5 separate regions of the Homo sapiens genome follow, and regions 1, 2, 4 and 5 are each linked to region 3. The links are contacts of gene promoters, found by promoter capture Hi-C in blood cells and fetal thymus (Javierre and others, 2016). All regions are on one chromosome and are shown on one strand. The core of a region is centred on a gene start or on the middle of the fragment in contact, and the rest is flanking DNA. Distances in the headings are between cores, read along the strand shown.

Region 1 (4,724 bases), core at 2,211-4,710, 3.2 Mb after region 3:
TCCCCAATATGATGGTACTAGGAGGTAGAACTTTGGGGAGGTAATTAAGTCATGAGAGTGGAGTCCTCATGAATGGGATTAGTACCCTCATTAGAAGAGACATGAGCTTGCCCTCTCTGCTGTCCAACATCTAAAGACACAGCAAAAAGATGACCATCTGCAAACCACGAAAAGTACTCCCACCAGACACAGGACCTGCAGACACCCTCATCTTAGAATTCCAGCCTTCACAACTGTGAGAAATAAACATTTGTTGTTTAAGCCACTCAGTCTATGGTTTTCTGTTATAGCAGCCCAAACTGACTAAAACAACATTCATTTACCAACGGGTACAGAAGGAGGACTTTCAAGTTTGACTCAATTTGAAGGAATATAAAGAAGGGAAGAGAAGGCCGGGTGCAGAGGCTCACACCTGTAATCCCAGCATTTTGGGAGGCCAAGCTGGGCAGATCAAGAGGTCAGGAGTTCAAGACCAGCCTGGCCAACATGATGAAACCCCATCTCTACTAAAAATACAAAAAAAAAAAAAAAAATTAGCTGGGCATGGTGGCATGCGCCTGTAATCCCAGCTACTCCAGAGGCTGAGGCAGGAGAATCTTTTGAACCCAGGAGGTGGAGGTTGCAGCGAGCCAAGACTGTGCCATTGCACTCCAGCCTGGGCGACAGGGTGAGACTCCGTCTCAAAAAAAAAAAAAAAAAAAAAAAAAAACCGAAGGGAGGAGAAAAGCACAAGCCCTGGGGTTACCTAACAGCTGCTTCTTAATGGAGTTAGAATGCACACCAAAGGCAAAACTAAAGGGAGACATGGGCCCCTCTCTCTGCAGACATCCTCATTGATACAGTGAATCAAGATGAAGCTAAACAATCCTAAAAATTGCAACAAGTTATGAGACCACCAACAGCAATAAAATCATACAAAGTCTTGAGGGGAAAGACACTGCCTCATCTCCAATAAGCAACCCCACCATCTCTAATATTCCTCCTCCCTGACAAAGGAGTCAGATACTAATAAAGGGAGCTGAGGAGATTGTATTTGAATCAGACTTAAGATTGAATTTTTACACTGGAGTGAAATTAGTTTGGCTTTGTTTTGTGTTTTTAATAACTAAAAATGATGAGAAAGTTGTGGAATGTGACCAAGAAATTGTCTTGAGAGACTCTCTACAAAGCACTATTGAGAATTGTGATTGGAGGAAAAACAAACATTACTGTATTACTATATACTAAGTAGAATGTACTCAATAATACTGGTTATACTAAAATGTTGACTTTCTAAAGCAGGCTGGAAGGGGTGTGTTTTTGGGGAAAAGTTATACATAGTCTTCATAATAGTAGACAATGGAAAAAAACAACAACAACAAAACCAAAGTGAAATATAGGGCTTATGTAAGCATATTTCAAAATAAGTTTAAAACTATATTCATATTTGATTGCATTATATAAGTTGAAGACACAAACTTATCTATATATTTCTCAAAAGGAGACATTTTTAGTACTATAAAGCTTGGCTGTGTATATGATCTTAGTTTTCAAAGCACCATTTCATACTTGTACTTATGAGCAAGAGAACAAACTCTCATTTCATATCCACCGTGTACGCGACGGAATCTAGACCATAGAAAATGTTCAGACAGTGATTTCAAATTAATCTATCACTTCCTACCTGCTTCTGCCCTTTGCTATCATATATAGCAATATTTTGGTCATTAATCCATATTAATTAAAGATCAGAGAAGGTGGATAGTTTTAATTATTTTTACAATGTACATGTATTATTTTGTAATTCAGAAAAATTAAACTTTAAAAAGAATTAGTATTTTATTCAATGTCTCCCTCTTCATACCAACTCATGCTTTATTTGCATAAGCTCAGTACCCACACACAAAATCTACAAATGCTGAGCATCTGTTGGTTTTGCCAGTGTTGCTTCCATTCTCCTTCTTCTGTAAACGGCATCTCTGTTTTCCTTTGAGGAACTTCCCAAACTCCATTTCATATAGTCTTTTTTGGGGTTTTTTGTTTGTGTTTGTTTTTGTTTTTGTTTTTTGAGATGGAGTCTCACCCTGTCACCCAGACTGCAATGCAGTGGCATGAGCTCAGCTCACTGCAACCTCCACCTCCCAGGTTCAAGTGATTCTCATGCCTCAGCCTCTGAATGGCTGGGATTACAGGTGTGCACCACTATGACCAGCTAATTTTTGTATTTTTTTAGTAGAGACCGGGTTTCACCATGTTGGCCAGGCTGGTCTCGAACTCCTGACCCCAAGTGATCCACCTGCCTTAGCCTCCCAAAGTGCTGAGATTACAGGCGTGAGCCACCGCACCCAGCCAATTTCATATAGTCTTGATAGAATAGTCAATCTCCTGCCCAAGGGGGTGGGCACAAAATCTAAGCAAGATCATTTAAATCTTAACCTTTCTTCTCAGTATTTGAACCCTAAGCAGTAACAAGAATGAACAAATAGTAGAACTAATTTTTCCCAGTAGTGATACTGAAGGTGTCCATTACTTTCTAAAACCCTGGACACCAAAGCTGCAATAGTTTCTATATCGCTGAAGCATGATTTTTTCTTCAGACTGAGTTTTAAATCTGTGAGCTACCTGATATATTTATAACAAACTCCACTTCCCAACCTCCACTTCACCCTTAAGTTAGAGTTGGTTTCTGATTGTTTAAGACTAAACCACACAAAAACCTTTGGGATAGGACATGACCCATCTACTGTCCTTCTTCCAGATTCCATCTCTCTTTACTTTCCTAATACTTTACAGAACTCTTCAATATTTCAACATCCATTTCCTTCAATTCAAGCTCTCCCTAGTCAATATCCTCAACTTACTTGTCCTAGGTATTTCTACTTAACTGTTTGCCTAATAAAAAACTGCCTTTTCCACTACCAGCCCTGGGGGCTGCTGGAGAAAACCTGACAGTCATTAGGGTTGGTGTCTGAATTCATTTTCAGTTTCTATTCTCAGTTAGGTTTTCCATAGTGATCAGAAGCCTTTCTGGTTTCCTGCTCATTTCACTTCTCATTCTCCACAGGATTTTCAGAATTCTCTTCAATCTCCTTAATCTCCAACTAGATCACTCCTTTTCAGCAATGTCTGCACAAATAAAGTAAAAGCCATGGGATGGAAATTCACTCTTCTTCCGGCCAGAAGACTCTCAAACCAAGTTGTATTCAAGCCATTCTTCTCTCCCACTCTGAATTTAAGTGGGAATGCAGTCTTCTCTTGCACTTAAGACTAATCCTCAGAATTGTGCACCAGACCCTATCCCTTTCTTCCTTCTGAGAGAAGTGGCTTTATCGATTACTTCTGTCTCTTCTGTATCTTTAACCTCACTCTCTAGATTGGCTCCAAGGCGATTACAGGTAAATATGATGAATGCCATACTTTTTCATCAAAAACTCCTGAAGGAGTCTCCTTTTAGCTACTGCTTTATTATTCTTTTCTCATTCTCTACTAAATTAAAGTAGTATCTGCCCAGCATGTAAAGGATGGTGATAGAGACAAGGAGCCAGCCAAGGGTCCCCCGGCAAAACCCCACTTTCAAGCCTAAAACAGCCTGAGGCTGAAAAACTGGACTGCCGGTCCCAGAGACTCTCTGACTGGCCTGTGCATTGGGAGGATGGAGTGGAGCCTTAGGACAAGGAGTCTGGCCTCTGCTGTTCCTGGGTGGTAACCTGGGATTCAATCAGTGAGGTGGAGAGCCTGTTGGCAGAACCCAACGAATTCCATTCCTCACCCTTCTGTGTATCTGTGAGCCTAATCTTTCCTGGTCATGTGACAAGAACCAATATTTTTCCTACAACAGTGGGGCACAGGAAAAGGGGGAGTGGGAGCAGTGTGTAAGCAAAGCCCACCTGATACAGGGTTCAGAAGGCACCACACAAAGGCCAGTCCAGCATGGAGAGGTCCAGCCTGGTTAGGGTGAGGATACATCCACTAGAGGGGCAGTCTGAAACAGGGTGGCAGAGCCTAGGTAGGGAAAGAGGGCATCCACATTCAAGGGAGGATGACAGTGGAAACAGGAGATTGATCACATGCAGGGGGGATTGATCAAATAAGTCAATATGACAAGTCCAATGGGAGCCTGGTTTCTCAGTGTCAAAAAGAAGGTTACCTATATGGAAAGGGAGAAAATTAGAACAAACCCTGAGGTGTTTGATTAGAATTTATGGTATCAATGTACACTCATGGTTTTACAGATAGAGACAGACAGACAGAAATATAGATGCAATTTGCAACTGTGTGTCTATACATTCATATGTACATCTATATATATGATAGCTCTCTCCACTGGGGACAACCTCAAAGTACACCACACTCTAAAAGCAAGGTGTATACCTAGTGCTCCTTCAAAGACTCAGGGCTAACTTGGAGAAATGGCTGATTCCAGGGCTAGGCAGCGGAATTGCAAGATGAGCTTGTTAAGTACAAGAAGTACAGGAGAAGTACAAGATGAGCTTGTTTCATATGCCAGAAAAAAAGAAGGTAGTCGAAATATGATGGAGACATGTCATAAGCCACTTTGAAGGGATTTCTACTAGCTAAATTGGGCACAATTTGAAGATCAAGATAAATAACAATAAATTAAGGCTCATATGAATCAATGGTCATATAAATAAACAAACAAATAGAAAGTTTGATAAGAAATAGGATACTTGCAAAGTTTCAAAAAACTTCCATACAAAATACTTACAAATTCCCTAGGGTCAGGG
Region 2 (4,498 bases), core at 426-2,925, 3.2 Mb after region 3:
TAAACCCAACAATTTGCTTTTCTATGACCATTCTCTTTGTACTTGAGAAGCAACTTTTCATTAAAAATATGTGCATATAAAAGTCACTCTGAAGATAAAGAAGGTGGGAGGAAACCTCTTGAGTGTTTTGGGTTCAGCAGTTTTATTTCCTGATACACTGCGTTTTTGGCCCTCTGTGGGATTTTACACCCATGAGTTATTACCTCACATAAGCACATTGTTCATGTGAGTAAACAAATTGTTTGCACATTGTATAAACAAAGAGCATTGTTTATACGATTTCATTTTTCCAAAGTCAGAGGAAGCGATGAGTTAACTTTTTTGTAGAAGGATGAAAGGGGTGCTTTACAAAAGAAGATGATTGCTATGAAGATATTCTACGTTGTGTATTTAGGTCTTAATTAAGTACTACTAAAGTACTGAGTAAAAGTCTTCATTCACTGATAAAATTTTACTGTTAATTTTTGTGAAATAGGGGACTATTCAGACATGCCTTTATAAAGCTTGTTAATCTAGTAATTAAATATCAGGTACTGTAGGTACCAACACCCTTTCCTCCCCACATAGCATTTCACGTATGAAAAGAGAATAATTGGATATAATATGCTAACAAGCTGTGTTTGCTCTCTGATTACATTTCTTGACTAGTATTCAGAATTGTAGTCATTTGCTACATTCTTCCTAGACCTCATGAAATAACTCTGTAAACTTTTTTTCTCATTTCTTTCTAGATTGATCCAAATCCTGATCAGTCAGCAGATGATAGACCATCCTGCCCCTCTCGTTGAAGGAACACTTGGTTGAATCAAGTTGATGTGGGTTCCGAACTGTATCTCTTCCGGCTGAGGACAGAGAAGTATCTTGGAGACACGTTTCAGAGGAAGTGGAATTACTTTTGCCCAGAAAAATGGCGAATACATGAAACAACCAGTGATCATGCTTTAGAAGCCTACAGCAACATTCTGAGACTGCTCCAACATGCTTGAAGATCTAAGCTTTTCTCTTTTAAAACTGGCACATACTCAGAGCAGTCTTCTTAGCCTATGGTCGTACGTGTCAAGACATCACGTTGTAAAGAGGGATGATTTCCTTCTTTTGATTTGAAAATTTGCACATGCTCAATGCTTACATTGTGCGGTTCGACGTCACTACAGCTTCTTTTTTTTTTTTTTTTTTTTTCTATTTTTGCCAGACTCTTGATACTCTTAAAACTTGTTTGTGGTCAGCACAACAAGGAACAAAACAAAGCTTTGAAAAAACTTTAACATGAAAAAACGCACTGACATTTTTTTTTATTTAATATAGCCTGGACTTTACCTGCGTATGCACATGCTCAGAATTGTCTACTAGGCTGACTATGTATCACCTCTTCAGCTTGGATCCAATTGTGGATTTATTTACAAACATCAAATGCCTTCAAGCCAATCCTTTTTGCTGTATGTTTTGCAGCCTACTGTAGTAGATACGCAACAGATAATGTGGGAAAAAAAGAGATAAGAGGAGGAAGCTAATAAGAGACTGTCAAGATTGTATACCTTCTTGGTTTCTTTTAAGAATTTGTTGCCTTTCTACTATTACAGCAAAGCAGCATTTTGTTACTGACTGCCTAAAATCACTTAATCTCAGGTGAACGCATCACTTGCCAAACTGTTGGAATGCTATTTGTGTTTTGTTGCACTGTTTTTTTCGTTTGTTTGTTTGTTTATTTGGTTGGCTTTTTGGAGAGGGAAATTTGGAAACGGGACATACACAAAAGTTACACACCCACATTCCCTTTTTATCATGACATACAAGAAGAAACTAGCAGAGCTAAGAATGGAGTGAAGAAAGGCAGTATGGCAGGCACCAGCAAAGAGTTGAGGGCTGTTGCTCTTAAAAATTATTTTTTTTATTATTATTTTGAAAGTATGGAAGTTTTCCATTCACTGGGGAAAGGAGGGAAAAGTGCATTTATTTTTATACAGAGTTACTTAATTACCTCCAAAACACATATGTTGGAAATCGCTTTTGCTGGTGCAAAGTATATTAATGAGCAGGAATACATACATTGAGGTTATGAATAGAGAGCTCAATTTGTACCTTTGCTGTCTTGCTCAAGCTTGGTATGGCATGAAAACTCGACTTTATTCCAAAAGTAACTTCAAAATTTAAAATACTAGAACGTTTGCTGCGATAAATCTTTTGGATTTTTGTGTTTTTCTAATGAGAATACTGTTTTTCATTACCTAAAGAACAATTTGCTAAACATGAGAAATCACTCACTTTGATTATGTATAGATTACATAGGAAGAACAATCACATCAGTAAGTTATAGTTTATATTAAAGGTAATTTTCTGTTGGCTCATAACAAATATACCAGCATTCATGATAGCATTTCAGCATTTTCCAAGGTACCAAGTGTACTTATTTTGTTGTTGTTGTTGTTGTTGTATTTTAGAAGGAATTCAGCTCTGATGTTTTTAAAGAAAACCAGCATCTCTGATGTTGCAACATACGTGTAAAATGGGTGTTACATCTATCCTGCCATTTAACCCCACAGTTAATAAAGTGGCTGAAAATAATAGTAGCTCTGGCTTGGTGCTTGACCTGGTTAAATACTGTCTTAAAGCTCATACAAAACAAATAGGCTTTTCCATAAGTGGCCTTTAAGAAAACATGGAAGACAATTCATGTTTGACAAATGCTGACAGGGTGAAGAAAGCCCAGTGTAAAAATGAATCGCGTTTTAAGTGATTCGGTTAAAGAGTTTGGGCTCCCGTAGCAAACTAATACTAGATAATAAGGAAATGGGGGTGAAATATTTTTTTATTGTTGAATCATTTTGTGAATGTCCCCCTCAAAAAAAGCTAATGGAATATTTGGCATAAAGGGCATTTGGTGGTTTTATTTTTGTTTGAGGGGGATTGTCAGAAAATCCCTTTTCTCTCTTACGTCTAACTGACTAGGGAACAATTGTTGATATGCATAGCATTGGAATACTTGTCATTATATACTCTTACAAATAACACATGAAGCAAGAATGACCAATATTCTGATAATTGGCACTGGATCACAAAATGTGATAAAACTTTAAATGTATAAAACTTTATCAAATAAAGTTTTATTTTCCCCTTTAAAATGTATTTCTTTAGAGGCATTACTTTTTTAAAAATATTGGTCAATTCCTGACATAAGATGTGAGGTTCACAGTTGTATTCCAGTATTCAAGATAGATTCCTGATTTTTCAATTAGGAAAAGTAAAATCCAAAATGTTAGCAAAACAAAGTGCAATATTAAATGTTTGCTTTATAGATTATATTCTATGGCTGTTTGTAATTTCTCTTTTTTTCCTTTTTTATTTGGTGCTGAATATGTCCTTGTAGGCTCTGTTTTAAGAAAACAATATGTGGGAAATGATTTAATTTTTCCTATTGCTCTTCCTTGTGGAAAATAAAGTGTTTTGTTTTTTTCTGTTTTGTATAATTGTTTGGAGATTTATTTGAATCTTGATCATATTAGTAACTCACCATACATGCAAACACATTAAATTAAACTATTAAACTCTATTTTAAGCCATTCTGGGTAAGAATTGTATCTAGGTCTGTACTAAAGAAAATTACTGACCAACTCCTAGGCTAAAGTAGTCCTCCTGTCTCAACCTCCGAAGTAGCTAGGACTACAGGTGCACACCACCACACCCACCTAATTTTCTAATTTTTTTGTAGTCGTGGTCTCACTATGTTACCCAAGCTGATCTCAAACTCGGGCCTCAAGCGATCCTCCCAACTTGGCTTCACAAAGCACTGGGATTACAGGCGTGAGACACCATGTCCAGACTCTAAATTTCAATCTTAAATATGAAGCAAACTTAACCAGGTAAAATAATTCACTTTCAGGCACCAATTCCTTCTCACTGTGTTGTGTTCAAATTACCAGTATTTCAAGAGTACATAAACATAACATAGTTTTTTTTTTTTTTAAGAGAGTGTCTCACTTTGTCACCCAGGCTGCAGTGTAGTGGCAGGATCTCGGCCCACTTCAGCCTTGACTTCCCAGGTTCAAGCAATCCTCCTGCCTCAGACCCCCAAGTAGCTGAGACTACAGGCATGCCCCACCATGCCCAGCTTATTTTTGTGTTTTTTGTGGAGATGAGATTTTGCCATGTTGCCCAGGCTGGTCTCAAACTCCTGGACTCAAGTGATCCACCCTACTTGGCCTCCAAAGTGCTAGGATTACAGGCACAAACCACCACGCCCGGCCTAAAAGTTACATTAATTTCTAATTTTTGAAGAATATTTCTAAATTTCTTTAAATTTTAAAAACAGTGAATATTCTTTGTCTTAAAAGAATCTTAATTTTATAGTGTCTGATAACCTTAGAAGTACTTTTGGAATCACATTTAGAATTTTTCTTCAGTGTTTATACATTAATGCATGAGTTATCAAGTTGTATATGGGCCTTACTATATGATTCTCCAATATTTCTTCCCAAACATATATTCACATGCAAGGTATGTT
Region 3 (4,619 bases), core at 329-2,828:
CAAGAGTTACCCGGTGGCTCACGCCTGTAATCCCAGCACTTTGGGAGGCCGAGGCGAGCGGAACACTTGAGATCAGGAGTTCGAGACCAGCCTGGACAGCATGGTGAAACCCTGTCTCTATTAAAAATACAAAACATTAGTCGGGCGTGGTGTCGCGCACCTGTAATCCCAGCTACTCGGGAGGCTGAGATAGGAGAATTGCTTGAACCTGGGAGCCGGAGGTTGCAGTGAGCCGATAGGCACTGCACTCCAGCCTGGGCAACAGAGCAAGGCTCTGTCAAAGAAAGAAAGAAAGCAAAGGAAGGAAGGAAAGGTAAGAAAAGAAAATAAAGAAATATACTCTTTAATATAAATTCACCTCATACTAGCAACTTAGGTATTGAACACCTGCAATATACGTAATCAAACTTTCCAATAATGAGAACATCTTGCACATCCACAGGTATTTCCAAGAATTGAGGCACAACGGAATAACATAAACCAAAAAGTCCACAAGGTGCATTGTCTGTCACACATACATTGTAAATTCAGTTCAAATGTTCATTCCCAATATTTCAACAACAACAACAAAATTTTTTAATAAAGTCATTCGTCAAAAAAGAGGCTGGCGCCTCCAAAATCAAGCTCCATCTAACTCCTGAGTCAAATAATGATATGAAGTACCCGAGACGGACCAATTTTTTTTTTGTCAATATTTAATCTGAGGCTTTGGAAGTGGAAGAAATCTTAAAATAGCCACTCAGTCTTGTTTCCAGCCTTCAGGCAGCTGAAATATAAACCCCAGGAACACAGACCCTCCCTTCAGCGAAAAGTGTATGTGTGTATGTTTGTGTTTAAAGGCCTATAGCAGTCAGAGATAGGATCACTGCCGTTTTAGCAGTTTAAAAAAAAAAAATTCTACTAGAGAGGAAAGAATGACACAATTTTCTTCGTCACAGGAAAGTGGGCCTGGGGTATCCCAGCCACCTTCGCAGACGCTAAGTTATGGAAAGCAGCCAAAATTCTGGTATCAGGATGAGGCGTCCCCATGGGTTCTATGGAAACGAGAGACGCGGGGGGCCTAGCGCCTTCCAGGCGGCGGGCCGAGCGGCAGAGCTGCGCAAGCAGAAGCGGGGGAAGTGGCTCAGCCCAGTACTGCAGAGGGGCGCTCGGTGGCAGTCCCCGCAGCGGCACGGGCGAAGCGTCGCGGGGTCTGCAGCTGCAGCCCACCAACTCCGGCGCCGAGCGCGAAGTCGGGAGAGCTGGAACGAACTGCAGCTGGAGAAAGCGCGAGAGCCAGACACCGCTGCCGCTCACCCCAGCCGCTTCCTTCCTAGCCTCACAGCCGGGAGGCAGAAACTTCGGAGGTACCGCCCGGCGAAGAAACATCCCCACAGAGACAGAATACACTGTGTCTTCCTAGCTGAGCCCCTTTACCTTCCCGGTGTCTGGGATGCTTCCTTCGGTGGCAGCGGCGGCAGGGGCGACGACTGCCGCTGCAGCACTCAACTGCTTCACGAATCCGGGCTCTGGGAAACAATTTCCCGCCGCGCGCTAGGCAGCCCCGGAAGCGATAGTACCATTTCCGGGTGGTTGTCAGTGACGCTCCGGAGCCGTCGCCAGGGTGGTAATACCTGGTGCAGAGCTTGAGTCTGGCCAGCGGGTCAGGCTCTTGCTAGATCAGCACCGGAGGTGGAAGACTGGTAAGTGATTTTACTGGGTTTTCTCCTGCGCCTGATATTAATGGCTGGCCGGGGCTCTGTGCAGCATTATGGCCAGCCCGAGAAGTGAGTGGGCGAGGGTGGAACCAGAAGGAGTCCCCATCAAACCCCGTGGCGCTTGACACCCAGTGCAGCTGGAGAAGGCCCTGGGATCCCGGCTTACCGTCTTATCCACTCGCAAAATCTGTCTCCGACTTGGAACTCGACCTCGGGTCACCAAGTGTCCCTGGGCGAGGCCGAAGACACCGTGTACCGTGACTCGGCGTTGTGCCGAGTTTCTCTACCAATGATCAACGAGTTTCCTATCTCCCATTGGCAGCGTTTGGCCACTCTTGATTCCTGAGTACTGTTTCCGTAGTTCTGGGGTGCCGTGCCTGGAAGGCAGGAGGTTGGCTGAAGAAGACATCTTTTACAAACATTTAGGAAGTGAGATGGGGAGGTTCCTTCCTGATTTAGAATTAATTGAAGGTTCCTCCCGCCATTTGAATTGGATGAGAAGAACGGTCTTTGTTTTCATGGCTGAGACATAAGAGAACAAGCTTGTAATTTCATGCTTGGGCATTAGATGCATTTTTGGAAAGCAGTGATCAGTAAGTATGTGTGCTTTCAGAAAGGAATGCTTGCGTTCTGCTCCAGGCTTTGTCGATAATGAAGGATTCAGGAGAATTTTGGATGGAGGTCTGAGGTAGCCAGAATAGTTGTAAAGAGAAATTGCTTCCGACAAAGGGATAATGTGAGGAAAGGTGCTCATTTAAGATTTGAAAGATGTGATGTAGTGAACCTTGGCGACTTCTCTTAAGTAATGCAATTTCTTAGGTAACTAGTTTTCACTTGCCACCTTATATTTAGATAATTACCTCCCCACCAACCCCCGTAAAAGGCAGCTGACTGTTATTTTTTCAAAACAGTCAGTTCCCGAAAGAGTTGTAGGTACTATTGCATTTTTTTTATGGGTATGCTCCTCATACCCATAAAAACATTTTCTTTATCGGAGCATACCGATAAAGAAAAATGCAATATGTTCAATTCAAGGCCCCTGTTAACACCAGGCCAGTGTCTTCTTAACCTTTTGAGAGTAATGCAACAAACCATATTTAGGACAGCACATTGATTTTCTGGCCTTGTTGGTTAATAATTCAACAAACTTATAATCGCCCCATTAATCCCAATCTTGACATTTTGTTGAATCTTGTATTTTTTCTTTATTTCTCCAGTTGAAAGTATTATAAATTACTTCAGGGATATTATGTATTATATCTGTACAGCAACTAGTTTTTAGAGGCAGTGATTTCTCTCTTTGAATTGCTCTTGAATGTAGCCAATCATTAATACTTACCCCAAGTAGATACTGTCTGCCAGGCACTTTACATTTATTATTTTATTTAATGTTTAATAAAAAAAGAAAATCACAAAAATTGTATTATTTCTATTTTGCAAAACATTTTATACTGAGACCCAAAGAGGTTGTGATTTTCCATAAATTATACAATTAAATGGCACAATTAAAATTTGAATCCAGTCTACCTGACTCTAAATTTTGGCTCTTTTTACTGTGCTCTATACCTTTATAAGTAAACATAACAGTATCATTATTTTCACTCCAGGTAAAAATGGATAGATAGTATGTCACATTTAGAAATCAAGTGGATAGCAAAACTTGAGGATAAAAGGGACTTAAGGGATGTGTTCATCACCATAAGGTAATTTTGACATCTAAATAATGCAGTTTCTTTAGTGCCTTTATCCTTGGCCAGTTTTATTATCCTAATTCAAACAAATGCCTATACTGTACATTAGCATAACACTTGGGGCAAATGCAGAAGATCTGGAGACCATCAGCAAGCATATTGGTGACTGAGTCCAGAGTATCAGCTAACTATCTCTTTAGACAGCTTTTCACACACACATTTGTATACATGTATATTTGTGTGTGCATGTGTGTGTGTGTGTGTAGGGAGAAAGAATGAGTAAATGAGCACAAATTCATAAAATTCAACTTTGTAATGATTTATAAGGAATTATTAGCAAAACTGTGCTGTTCCACTCACGTAACCCTCAAACAGATGGGGATTATCACATAGTTTCAGGAATATGCTTTATTAAACCTGCCCATCCCAATACCCAATTCTATATAGAGAAACAGAAATAGCCTAATTTTCAGAGAATTTACAAAAATTTAGTTGAAATGACCAATACTAGAAATGACATAGAAGTTAATTCTAAAGAATATCCTGTTTTACAACTGTATAGGTATAGCTAGCCTGAAATACTAATGTGTATTTGATTACATTGCATTGACTTGTAGGCAGATCCCGTAGGCAGATCTCAGGGATATTTTGCTATCAAATTTCAGTGCTTATGAAGTTTGGGATTATGTCTGTTTTGTTCGTCATCTCAAACCCAGCATCTAGCACTGTGCCTGGCGTGTAATAGAAGCTCAATAAATAAGTCAGGAACCATGACTCATGACTGTAACCCCAATACTTTGGGAGGCTAAGGCAAGAGGATTTGAATCCAGATCCTCTAAATTTTGGCTCTTTTTACTATGTTCTATACTTCCTTTAATAAATAAACATAGGTCACAGTGAACTATGATCATACTACTGCACTCTAGCCTGCACAACAGAGTAAGACCCTGTCTCTAAAAAATAAAAAATAAGCATTTATTGAATGAATGATTCCTTTTTAAAATGTTATTTATCCACCGAGAAGTATTTGTACATTTTTTAAAGGATTTACCACATAAATAAATATTTATTTTTACTCACCTTGCCCCTGAAATACAGTGTCCACTCCACACTCATTCATAAAAGGCAATGTGCTGTCCTGCAAAGAAGACTGGACTGTGAGACAGGAGATGAGAGAATATCTAATATTTTTCTGTGTTTATTCTCTGCTATTCAGTGTTAAATTACTCCT
Region 4 (4,890 bases), core at 2,201-4,700, 4.2 Mb before region 3:
CTACAATAAATGTACTAGGTCTGGGGTCAACAGAGAACAGATTTCCAAACCTTATGCAGAGATATACTTAAAATGACAACTGAAAGCTGTTGCAATGCAGGCATGTCTGGTTCTGATTTTGTAACCAACAAAGAATGACCCAGAACACTGGTTTACATGCCCACATGCTGTTGTAGAACAATAACTCCCTGCTAAGGGGCACCAGAAAGCAGACCTACCTCATGCTCTAGGAGCCTACAAGGTAATGGTGTTTCTTACAATGGAAAACTGTAGGTTACAGAGTTTGAAGAAGACATTAACCAAAAGCAAACCAAACTAAGTCTTTCTACATCTCTAGTATCTTCAACCAGCGGAAATTTTCAAGAATTCCCAAGAAAGTAGCTACAGAATTTGAAATTCAGGGGTAAGTATGGAATTTAGACTATCCATAATGCATGATGGGTATGCTACTATGCTTTGGACAGGCGATGAGTGCTGCCCATAGGATTGCCAGGAGCTGGTGGCCGTTGGCAGCACCAAAAACGTACAAGATAGGCACCTCAGAGCATCTGTCCATCTGCCTAACAGTCATCTTGCTTGGTCAAGTACGATGAGCACAGCCCTTTCCCAAATTCAAACGCCTTAAGGTAAACTACCTTCTCTCACTCAAGGGTGAGGCACAGTAAAATGTGTAGCAGAAGATCTGCAGTAGGACCTGTTGTCATCCCCAGTCTCCACTCCTACTTTTTATTTTGTGTTACTGAGGTGGAAGGATAGAATAAGAAAGCAAGAGTGGTGAAAAAGGATACAACCACATTAAAACAAAAGGAAAAATAAAATGAAGGCATTCAAACTACTTGTACAAAAATAATTACTAAAAACATTTCCATTGTTTGTTTAGGTATGCAACTTAATAATAAATGAATTTCAGAATTGTTTTTGAAAAAGGAATACTTTTGAATTCCCTGGAGACTGGCAATTTTAATATATGCTATTGGGAATACATTTGCAAAGTGCAGAATCTTTCATAAAAAAATTTATTCCCCAATCACCTTCTGTGATCATGGCATATACAGATTCTTATTGAACCCACTTAAACAGAGATATAAAGATCCACAGAATGAATGAACAAGAGTTGAGACTGAGAGGTTGGCAAAAATAACATGGAAGAAGTCAAGCATCCTCAAAACAGATCATCTGGTTTATCTTGAGTGTGTGAGGCACAGGACAACTACTGACATGTGCCCTCTCTGGAGCCTGTGAAGGGTGGGCTACTTCCTCCTGCAAAACAAAACCTGCCTTTCTTCTCAGTGTAGCTAACTCTGCCAGTTCAGAGCCTGTCCCTCTCATCTCATTCTGAGTGCCTACATGCCTGTAGCCGCCTCTCACAGCCAAAGGTGGGGAAGATGGCCCAGAGCTGATGTGGATGTCAGCCGAGGTATGTGTGTGTGCCAGACACCCCTGCAGCCCCCGGGGTGGAGAGATGAAAAACCAGCCCTGGCTTCCCCTTCAGAAACACATCTACCTGGCAAGGTAGCCAACTGGCACAGGTTCCTCCAAAGAGAGGGAGGCAGGCACAGGGCAAAACTAAAAACACAGAGGCCTTGAGAAAGCATACCTGTGCACACCATGACCAACAGGAAAACAAACCCTACCTTTCCCAAGGAAGGGGAGGAGAGGGCCATGGTGGGGAAGAAAACAGTAGACCAGGGGAGATGAGGCAACATCATTAAGCACCGCAGGCATGTCTGCCTTGAACTCACTGCTTGCCATGTAGAGAAAAAGAAAAGGCTTAGCTAATATATGGCCCCGGGTGACTTCATTTCATTCTATGGTGTTTAGATTTTTCCCCCACTTTGTCTTTTTGTGATAAGGAAAAGGGGGGTACCTAGGAACAGGCAGAGCTCACAAAGTTGGGCTTGAAGACGGCTTGCTCAAGAGGCCAGGTTCCCAGGACTGAGAAGCTGTCTTAGTAGCCTCATTGAGCAAAATACCCTGGGGTCTAGTGCTTCAGTGCAGTGTTAAAGGGAGCGAAATGAATGGATGTTTCCGAAAATTTCAGTATCACAGCTGGCCAGCTAGCCAATGACATCAGTCTTTCAATCTAGTGGCACTGAGCACGTGGGTTATTAAAAACACTTGACCACACAAGGATGATCTGGTATCTACAAGGCACAGTACTAGGTTACCCAACAACTGGTCTATGCACTTGCTTAAATTCTCAGTAAAGCTGGGATTTCCATGAAAAAATTTTTCAAAAGATTTTTTAAAGAAAGTATGGTGGTAGACATTAAGGGAAAATTTCAGATCTTGTTTAGAACTTATTTTATAAGCACTTTTATGCCTCTTATTGTTTTTATTTTTATCACCACCACTTTTTTGTGCTGAAGGTTTTTAAAGGTTTTATTTTGGTCCTGGCTGGGTAAAAGGAACGTATTGTAAGATTTAGGCCTTTCTTTGGTTTCACCAGCACACGTCATACTAGTATTGAGACAGGTCTTCAAGAGCAACCTTCCAGATGCTTATGGGGCTTTGGAGAGAGTTACAAAGAGAAGGGGGATGGGGAACCAAACCCAACAACTCCTAGAGGTTGTGAAGTGAGGCTACAGAATAGTTTGCTGCTGAACAGCATGGTCACCAGATGTGGGAAAATACCTTCCAATAGTGCAATTAAAGACCAAGCATTCTCATCATCTACTTGAATTTATGTCAGAGGACCACTTTCTCCAACTTTTTTTGAATGGGTAAAACCTTTGATCCTTATTCCAAACTGAGGGAGAAAACAAGATTGTCCTTTTTATTTATTTGCTAAAAATTACAACAGAATTCAACTGAAATAAAATGATCTTAAATACTTCAGTGTAAACTGTTCCATATATATAGCAATATTCATAAGGTTATCCCCCACATATTTTCACCATAATCAGTAACAATAGAATTCTGAAAGACTGAATAACAGAAGTGACATGACCGGATGGAAGGCATGAAGAATAAAATTTGAATACTGCTTCTTGTGAAGAGAATGAGTATTTCCCCATTTACAAGCTCTGATTAATCTCTATAGTTTTGTTCGAAGGTCACTCTGCCAAGTCCTCAATTATTTGCACAATTGATGACTTTTTCCATTCTCAATGGACTGCCTTCTTTCAGTTACCCAAAGACTATTCCCAGCTTTCATGTGCCATATGACTCTGCAGTAATGATGGATTTGGGGCCATCGTTTCTCTTATAACTTCATAATTCTATAACTTTATATATAATTTATAGCAAATACATATTCTGAGATATTTATAAAAAAATGATTTGAGTACATACAAAAACCAGAGGGAGAAAAGTTTATTTTGAGATATGGAATTTGGTAAGGCAAAAGACAAGCTTGAGCTTTTACTGAGAGTTGAAGTATAAACATTTTGGAGTTCCCCTAAGATGTCTAGACCAGTGTAACAGTCGTCTTTGATTAGGGCAATGACTTCTAGTCTTAAATTTGTGACACCCCAGGGTGTCTGCAGATATCTCCCGAGGTGTTGTAAAATTCCCTCCACAAAATGCCAAGTAAAATAAGCTTTAATTTATTTAAAAAGTATACCACACATGTTTAGACACAGGGGAGGGTGTCCTGGAATCAAGAGAACAGTCGTAAGTATTTCAAAAGCTTGAGTCTTGTCAATTACATTAAAAAACTAAACCAATTTTTTTGGATACAATAAATGCAAGAAATAAAGTAAGATGAGATGGTCTATGTGTGTGGTTTTGTGGTTGGAAAAGACACGGAAGGAGGTGGTTAGTCGGGACACTATTTTAGTGGAAAAGTGACTTTACTTACTAATGGCTGAATTAGCACTGACTGCCAATTAGAAACCTAGTTCATAGGTCCTCTCTACCTGCTTGCACTAAACACTGGTGCCTTGAAGTTGGTGTCAAAGATCTCTGTACAGTATTAGTTTCTTTAAAACAAACGAACACAGACCACATAAACTGGCAGCTAGTCATGGTAAGCTAAATTTTGTCAGTGTTTCTCTTAGCTTCTGACTGAAACTGTTAACCTGAGGCCCTGAGATTACACACAGGTTACATATTGCTGCTCTGCAATATCCAATTATTAACCTCCTCGGTCATCAAGAGGTTAGTAACTAAACCACCACTGTGGGTTTACCACTGGGAAGTTGGCTTATTGCCATTATGTTTTACTATAGCTTCCAAATCTCCAATAAAATATGTTTCCTGATACGTCACTGCCTCAGGCCTCACAGCTTTCTTTATTCAGAACACCCACTTCAATCATCTGATAAATCTGAACATGGATTTCTTCAAGAGTCACACACATATGCACTCAAAAAAAGACATCACTGAAAAAAGCATCCTTTTTTTACTAAACAGGTCTGCCTTTTCCCTGGAGAACTCAATTTCACTGTTTACTTTTTATTCTTTATATCACTGTCTATTTAAAATTAGAACCACGTTTACATTCCAATAAGAAATTCCTTACTAGATAATTTTTATTTAACCCTTTATCAACTGTTAATTGCTTTTCAAAAGAAGTTCCTTTTAAACTAGGCCCTTTATAGCACATTTCAAAAGTTATCTGAAGAATCAAACATCTTTTGAAAGTTGAGTAGGGAGAGGGAAAAAAGAAGGTATACTTGCCTTATTTGTAGCAGTAGCACTGGATCCAGGGACCACAGGTACGTTTGTCACTTGAACTGAAAGATAATTATTATCTATGAGTGGCCAGGCCCCTTCTACTTTGCATGTTTGGAAGTTATCCTTGAAAGTTCTGAGGTGAGGATCTCCAAACAAGCCACAAAAAAGGTAACTGGGAGGGTTCTGGTCCCCTCTCCTGTGTTCCCTGGCTCCAGCGTGGCTGTGATAGTTGCAAGGATCATGGGTCACTTCGGGGTTGGTAGAGGATGT
Region 5 (4,403 bases), core at 1,387-3,886, 4.1 Mb after region 3:
AATTTTTTTAATTTTTTATTTTTGTAGAGATCGGAGTCTCCCTGTGTTGCTCAGGCTGGTTTCAAATTCCTGGGCTCAATTGATCCTCTCACCTCAGCCTCCTAAAGTGCTGAAATTACAGGCATGAGCCACTGTGCCCAGCCAACCATAGTTTTTCTGTCAGTCATTCTTTCTATTAAAAATAGTGTCCTTTGATAAAAACGGTTTGCTCAGTTCCCAACTCAAACAAGGCCACCAGATTTTTTTTCTTAGACAACCATATTACTTTGACATGCAGCAGAAGAACTTCATGTGCATTTCCCGTTTCATCAGAAAGAATAATAAAAGCCATATATTCAAGGACTGAGATTGATTTATTTATTTATTTTGAGACAGACTCTCACTCTGTCGCCCAGGCTGAAGTGGAGTGACACGATCTCGGCTCACTGCAAATTCCGCCTCCGGGGTTCAAGCGATTCTTCTGCCTCAGCCACCCAAGTAGCTGGGACTACAGGCATATGTCACCACGCCCAGCTAATTTTTGTATTTTTAGAAAAGACGGGGTTTTGCCAGGTTAGCTAGGCTGGTCTCGAACTCTTGACCTCAGGTGATCCACCCACCTCAGCCTCCCAAAGTGCTGAGATTACAGGTGTGAGCCACTGCATCCTGCCTCCAGGACTGAGATTTAATACAATAAATATATATTTACTGCTTAATCAAGGAACACTTTTAAAGTGGTATGTGGTGTTCCTCTCCAATTTGAGTCAACCTCCCTTTTGCCTGAGTTACTGCAATTGCCTTTTTTTTTTTTTTTTTTTTTTTGAGACAGAGTCTTGCTCTGTCACCCAGGCTGGAGTGCAGTAGCACGATCTTGGCTCACTGCAAGCTCGGCCTCTCGGGTTCATGGCATTCTCCTGCCTCAGCCTCCCGAGTAGCTGGGACTACAGGTGCCTGCCACCATGCCTGGCTAATTTTTTTTTTTCTGCTTTTGTTTCAGTAGAGACGGGGTTTCACCGTGTTAGCCAGGATGGTCTAGATCTCCTGACCTCATGATCCGCCCGCCTCGGCCTCCCAAAGTGCTGGGATTACAGGCATGAGCCACCGCATCTGCCTGCAATTGCCTCTTAACTGATCTCTCTGCTGCTGCCCTAACCTTCCTATTAAATTCTTTTAAAAGGTAAATGATGACCTCCTCTGCTCAGAACCCTCCAGTTGTTTGCCGTCTTGCTCAGAGTGAAAGCCCAAGTCCCTGCAGTGGCTAACAAAGTCCTATCCCATTTGGCTCTCTGTGGGCTCATCTCCCATGGCTGTACAAGAGTAACCTGAGTGCAAGTGATAACCCAGTGAACAAGGCAAATAACTTCTTAGAATTATTGTGAAAGTACTTGAGGACCCTACTAAGGAGTCTTGGGGATTGGCAGGGGTTCTGAGATCATACTTTGACAACACCTTGTATAGTTATCAAAATGTCAGTTTTGCGCAGACTGCCTTAACTTTATACATGTTGAAAGTGGTTGTTGTTACCATTCTTATCATAATCCTTGCTTGTGTTTTCCAGTCCTTTAGCAATGCATTTGAGTGCTGTCATTACACACATACAACAAGCAACAGCAGTCTCTACTTGTAGTTTTTATGAAACCAGAATTTTAATGAGTAATGGCAGATATTGAGAAAAAGGTGAACAAGGCTCATGGGAGGTAACACAGAGCAGGAGGAAAAAATTTACTATAAATCCTTTTGTCTATTTTCACCATATTCATTTCGAAACTCTATCCTGTTCAGTTGCTAAAACCAAATAAAGTCAAAGGGCTAGCGTATCTATTTTATTAGAATAGATTACGCAATGCTTTTATGGCTTTGCCTTACAAGCAATCCTAATATTTGTATACAGTAAAGCCATTCTTTTTAAATATAATGCCTTCTATTGCATCAGCATTACATACAATGCCTATAAACATTATCTTATACAAAGCCAGGAATAACACACAAGAAATTTTCCTTAGAAGATTGGTGTAGTAATATTTATCTTTCAATGAAATGACTGAAACAATAGAATTAGAAATCTTTATAAAACAAGTGTTCATTTATATTGTTATGTGATATATAACCAAATCTGTAGTATGATCTTAAGGACAGGGTAATAAAAGGAAAGTTAATCAAGTTTCAACTAATATAAATTGATTATTCTACAAAATAACAGATTAGATTTTAAACTGAAAAATACTCCAAAGAAAAATAAGTACTTTTCAAAACAACAAATCAAAGAAATGAGCTTCTGTATGTTTCTTACTAACAGATTGCTCATTGATTAGTATATACATTTCCAAACACATTTTTCTGCATGGAAAGGAAGGAAGCCTCCACGACCCTTGCTATATACCCCATCAAGTAAGTCCAAGTGTAAAATGTTTTTTGAAATCAGCAGGCATTCTTTGCTTCAAATAATTCTGAAGGGATTTAGAAGCCAGATAGGATTAAGGCTTGGAATAAGGGGAAAAAATTCAGCTCAATCTTAACTGTAAATAAAAGAAAACATGGTGAGAGGGCAGAATGGAAACTTTACTTAGATCCAACAATTGCTACAGTGGTAAATCTGGCTTATTTAGAATTAATGTGGAAAACAGGCCCTAGTACAGAGTCACTAATCAAAGTATGCAAGAAGGAACTAGTGAAAAATATCTTTAAAACTAAAATTGAGCATCCTCATAGAGTCGGGGGCTTTGAAAAAATTCTTAAATCAAGTATTTTTAACCCACATCAATGTGATACTTGATGTTTTTCCCTAATTTGAGACATCTTCCCTCTTGCCTGAATTACTACAATTTCCTCTTAACTGATCTCCTTGCTGCTGCCTCCACTTTCCTATGGGATCCTTTTAAAGGGTAGATGATGACCTCCTCTGCTCAGAACCCTCCAATCGTTTCCCATCTTGCTCAGGGTGAAAGCCCAAGTCCTTGCAGTGGCTGACAGAGTCCTTTCCCATTTGGCTCTATCTGACCTCTTCTCCTACTGCTCGCTGCTTCGGCAATCTGCTCCAGCCATGCTGGTATCTTTGTTGTTCCTCCAATACTCTAGGCACAGTTCCTCTCTCAGGGATAGAGAATTTTCATAGGGTGGAGACTCTCCCCCAACCCAAAACACTGCAGCTCCTACCCTATTCAGTGTTCCTCCATTCACTTATCACCATCTAACACAATTTCATTTATTTATTTTGTTTTTATCTTTCATCACAAGAACATAAGCTCCAAGAGGGCAAAGATTTGGGTTTGTTTGTTCATTGCATGTCCCTGATGCTTTATTAAAGCAGGATTTGAAACACAGTTGCTGCTTAATTAACATTTGTTGAATGAACAGATGTAATTTCTGTCTATATTTTGTCAGATAAGCAACTACCTTCATTTTAGGTATGCATGTACACCTCACTATTATTCTTTAAATGAGCACGGAAGTTTTGCTTTTGAAATTCTTGCTTGGTTTTGTCAGATAGTGTTGACTAAGCTGAGGATTGTCACAGAAGTGGTCTCTATCTGGAAAGACCTAGACTAGAAAGAGAAGATGCTGTTGCCTCTCCCATTATCCTTTTATTCTTCCCCACTCCCTATCTTTCCTGTCTCTGTGAATGCACTGCTGAAGACCTAAGAAATCAAACTGGACGTCCACTCTCTGTACTCCATTTTGACTTGCTCTCCACTTCTGGGTGATCACTATCTATCATCACCCAATTCCATAGACTGGGTCATGCCTCAGGTTTTCCTTTGGTTTAGTGAACTTAATTACATACTGTCTTATCATCTTAAATCTCTGGAGAAGTAGGCACGAAAACAAGCAGGATGCAGGTTCTGGGGGAATTCACCTGCACTGATTTGCCTATGTGACAGTAGTGATTATAAGAGACATGGGAAACAAAGCATTTCAAATTATAGTCTACTTAAATATAAAGATGTAACTGTTCCTTTCTACATGTACCAACCACCTAGCTAAAGAGTATAAGGATAGTATTTGTGAGGCTAGTTTTCATCGTGTCTGCATGGATGAAGACTTGAAGATGGTTGTTTTCAAGTCATGTTTAAGATCCATGAATTAATTACTAGCATTTATAAACAGCTTTGGATTCCTGAAGTATATCTGACTCTTCTTTTGTCCACATTATGGCAAAGCCATGATTACAATAATCATTATGTTTAAAAATCACAGGATTAAAGGCAGCTAGAGAGGTCATGTGGTACACCTGCTAGCAGAACATATCCAAATCATCCAGTCTGTTTTTTTCCAACACTTCGAGAGAAGAGACACAATAATTTTCTCTCTACATAGGTTATTTGAAGATCAGAGATGTGGGAGTTTTTTTTTTTTTTAAGTTTCACTCCATAATCCAATTTTAACTTCATCTGAGATTACTTAAAGTATTTCCTTATTGTCCAACA

What was found. Contacts are between HindIII fragments. The CHiCAGO score rates a contact against its expected background, and 5 or more counts as called.
Region 1: a contact is called between a fragment that was not itself captured here and the fragment with the promoter of KIAA0825 in region 3, in 1 of 17 cell types (total CD8 T cells). The highest score is 5.0, in total CD8 T cells.
Region 2: a contact is called between a fragment that was not itself captured here and the fragment with the promoter of KIAA0825 in region 3, in 1 of 17 cell types (non-activated CD4 T cells). The highest score is 5.8, in non-activated CD4 T cells.
Region 4: a contact is called between a fragment that was not itself captured here and the fragment with the promoter of KIAA0825 in region 3, in 1 of 17 cell types (total B cells). The highest score is 5.1, in total B cells.
Region 5: a contact is called between a fragment that was not itself captured here and the fragment with the promoter of KIAA0825 in region 3, in 1 of 17 cell types (non-activated CD4 T cells). The highest score is 6.6, in non-activated CD4 T cells.

Annotation. Positions count from the first base shown.
Region 1 is chr5:91,396,210-91,400,933 of GRCh38, reverse strand. All of the region lies in intron 1 of ARRDC3-AS1 (ARRDC3 antisense RNA 1), which reads right to left. Among named protein-coding and RNA genes, the nearest start is that of ARRDC3, 15 kb to the right of the region's middle. The HindIII fragment of the contact is 3,910 bases long and covers 1,506-4,724 here.
Region 2 is chr5:91,367,690-91,372,187 of GRCh38, reverse strand. ARRDC3 (arrestin domain containing 3) reads left to right here. Exons shown (of 8, transcript NM_020801.4): 8 at 732-3,557. The coding sequence ends at 788. Among named protein-coding and RNA genes, the nearest start is that of ARRDC3-AS1, 10 kb to the left of the region's middle. The HindIII fragment of the contact is 850 bases long and covers 1,251-2,100 here.
Region 3 is chr5:94,615,563-94,620,181 of GRCh38, reverse strand. It overlaps KIAA0825, which reads left to right and starts at 1,578. Exons shown (of 21, transcript NM_001145678.3): 1 at 1,578-1,682. It overlaps SLF1 (SMC5/6 complex localization factor 1), which reads right to left and starts at 1,513. Exons shown (of 21, transcript NM_032290.4): 1 at 1,417-1,513. RefSeq lists enhancers at 792-901, 1,292-1,471, 1,782-1,961, 1,700-2,564. The HindIII fragment of the contact is 3,766 bases long and covers 1-2,241 here.
Region 4 is chr5:98,779,822-98,784,711 of GRCh38, reverse strand. RGMB (repulsive guidance molecule BMP co-receptor b) reads right to left here. Exons shown (of 3, transcript NM_001366508.1): 2 at 4,624-4,890. Among named protein-coding and RNA genes, the nearest start is that of RGMB, 8.6 kb to the right of the region's middle. RefSeq lists an enhancer at 4,399-4,890. The HindIII fragment of the contact is 187 bases long and covers 3,357-3,543 here.
Region 5 is chr5:90,532,550-90,536,952 of GRCh38, reverse strand. No RefSeq gene overlaps it. Among named protein-coding and RNA genes, the nearest start is that of LYSMD3, 5.2 kb to the right of the region's middle. The HindIII fragment of the contact is 7,271 bases long and covers 1-4,403 here.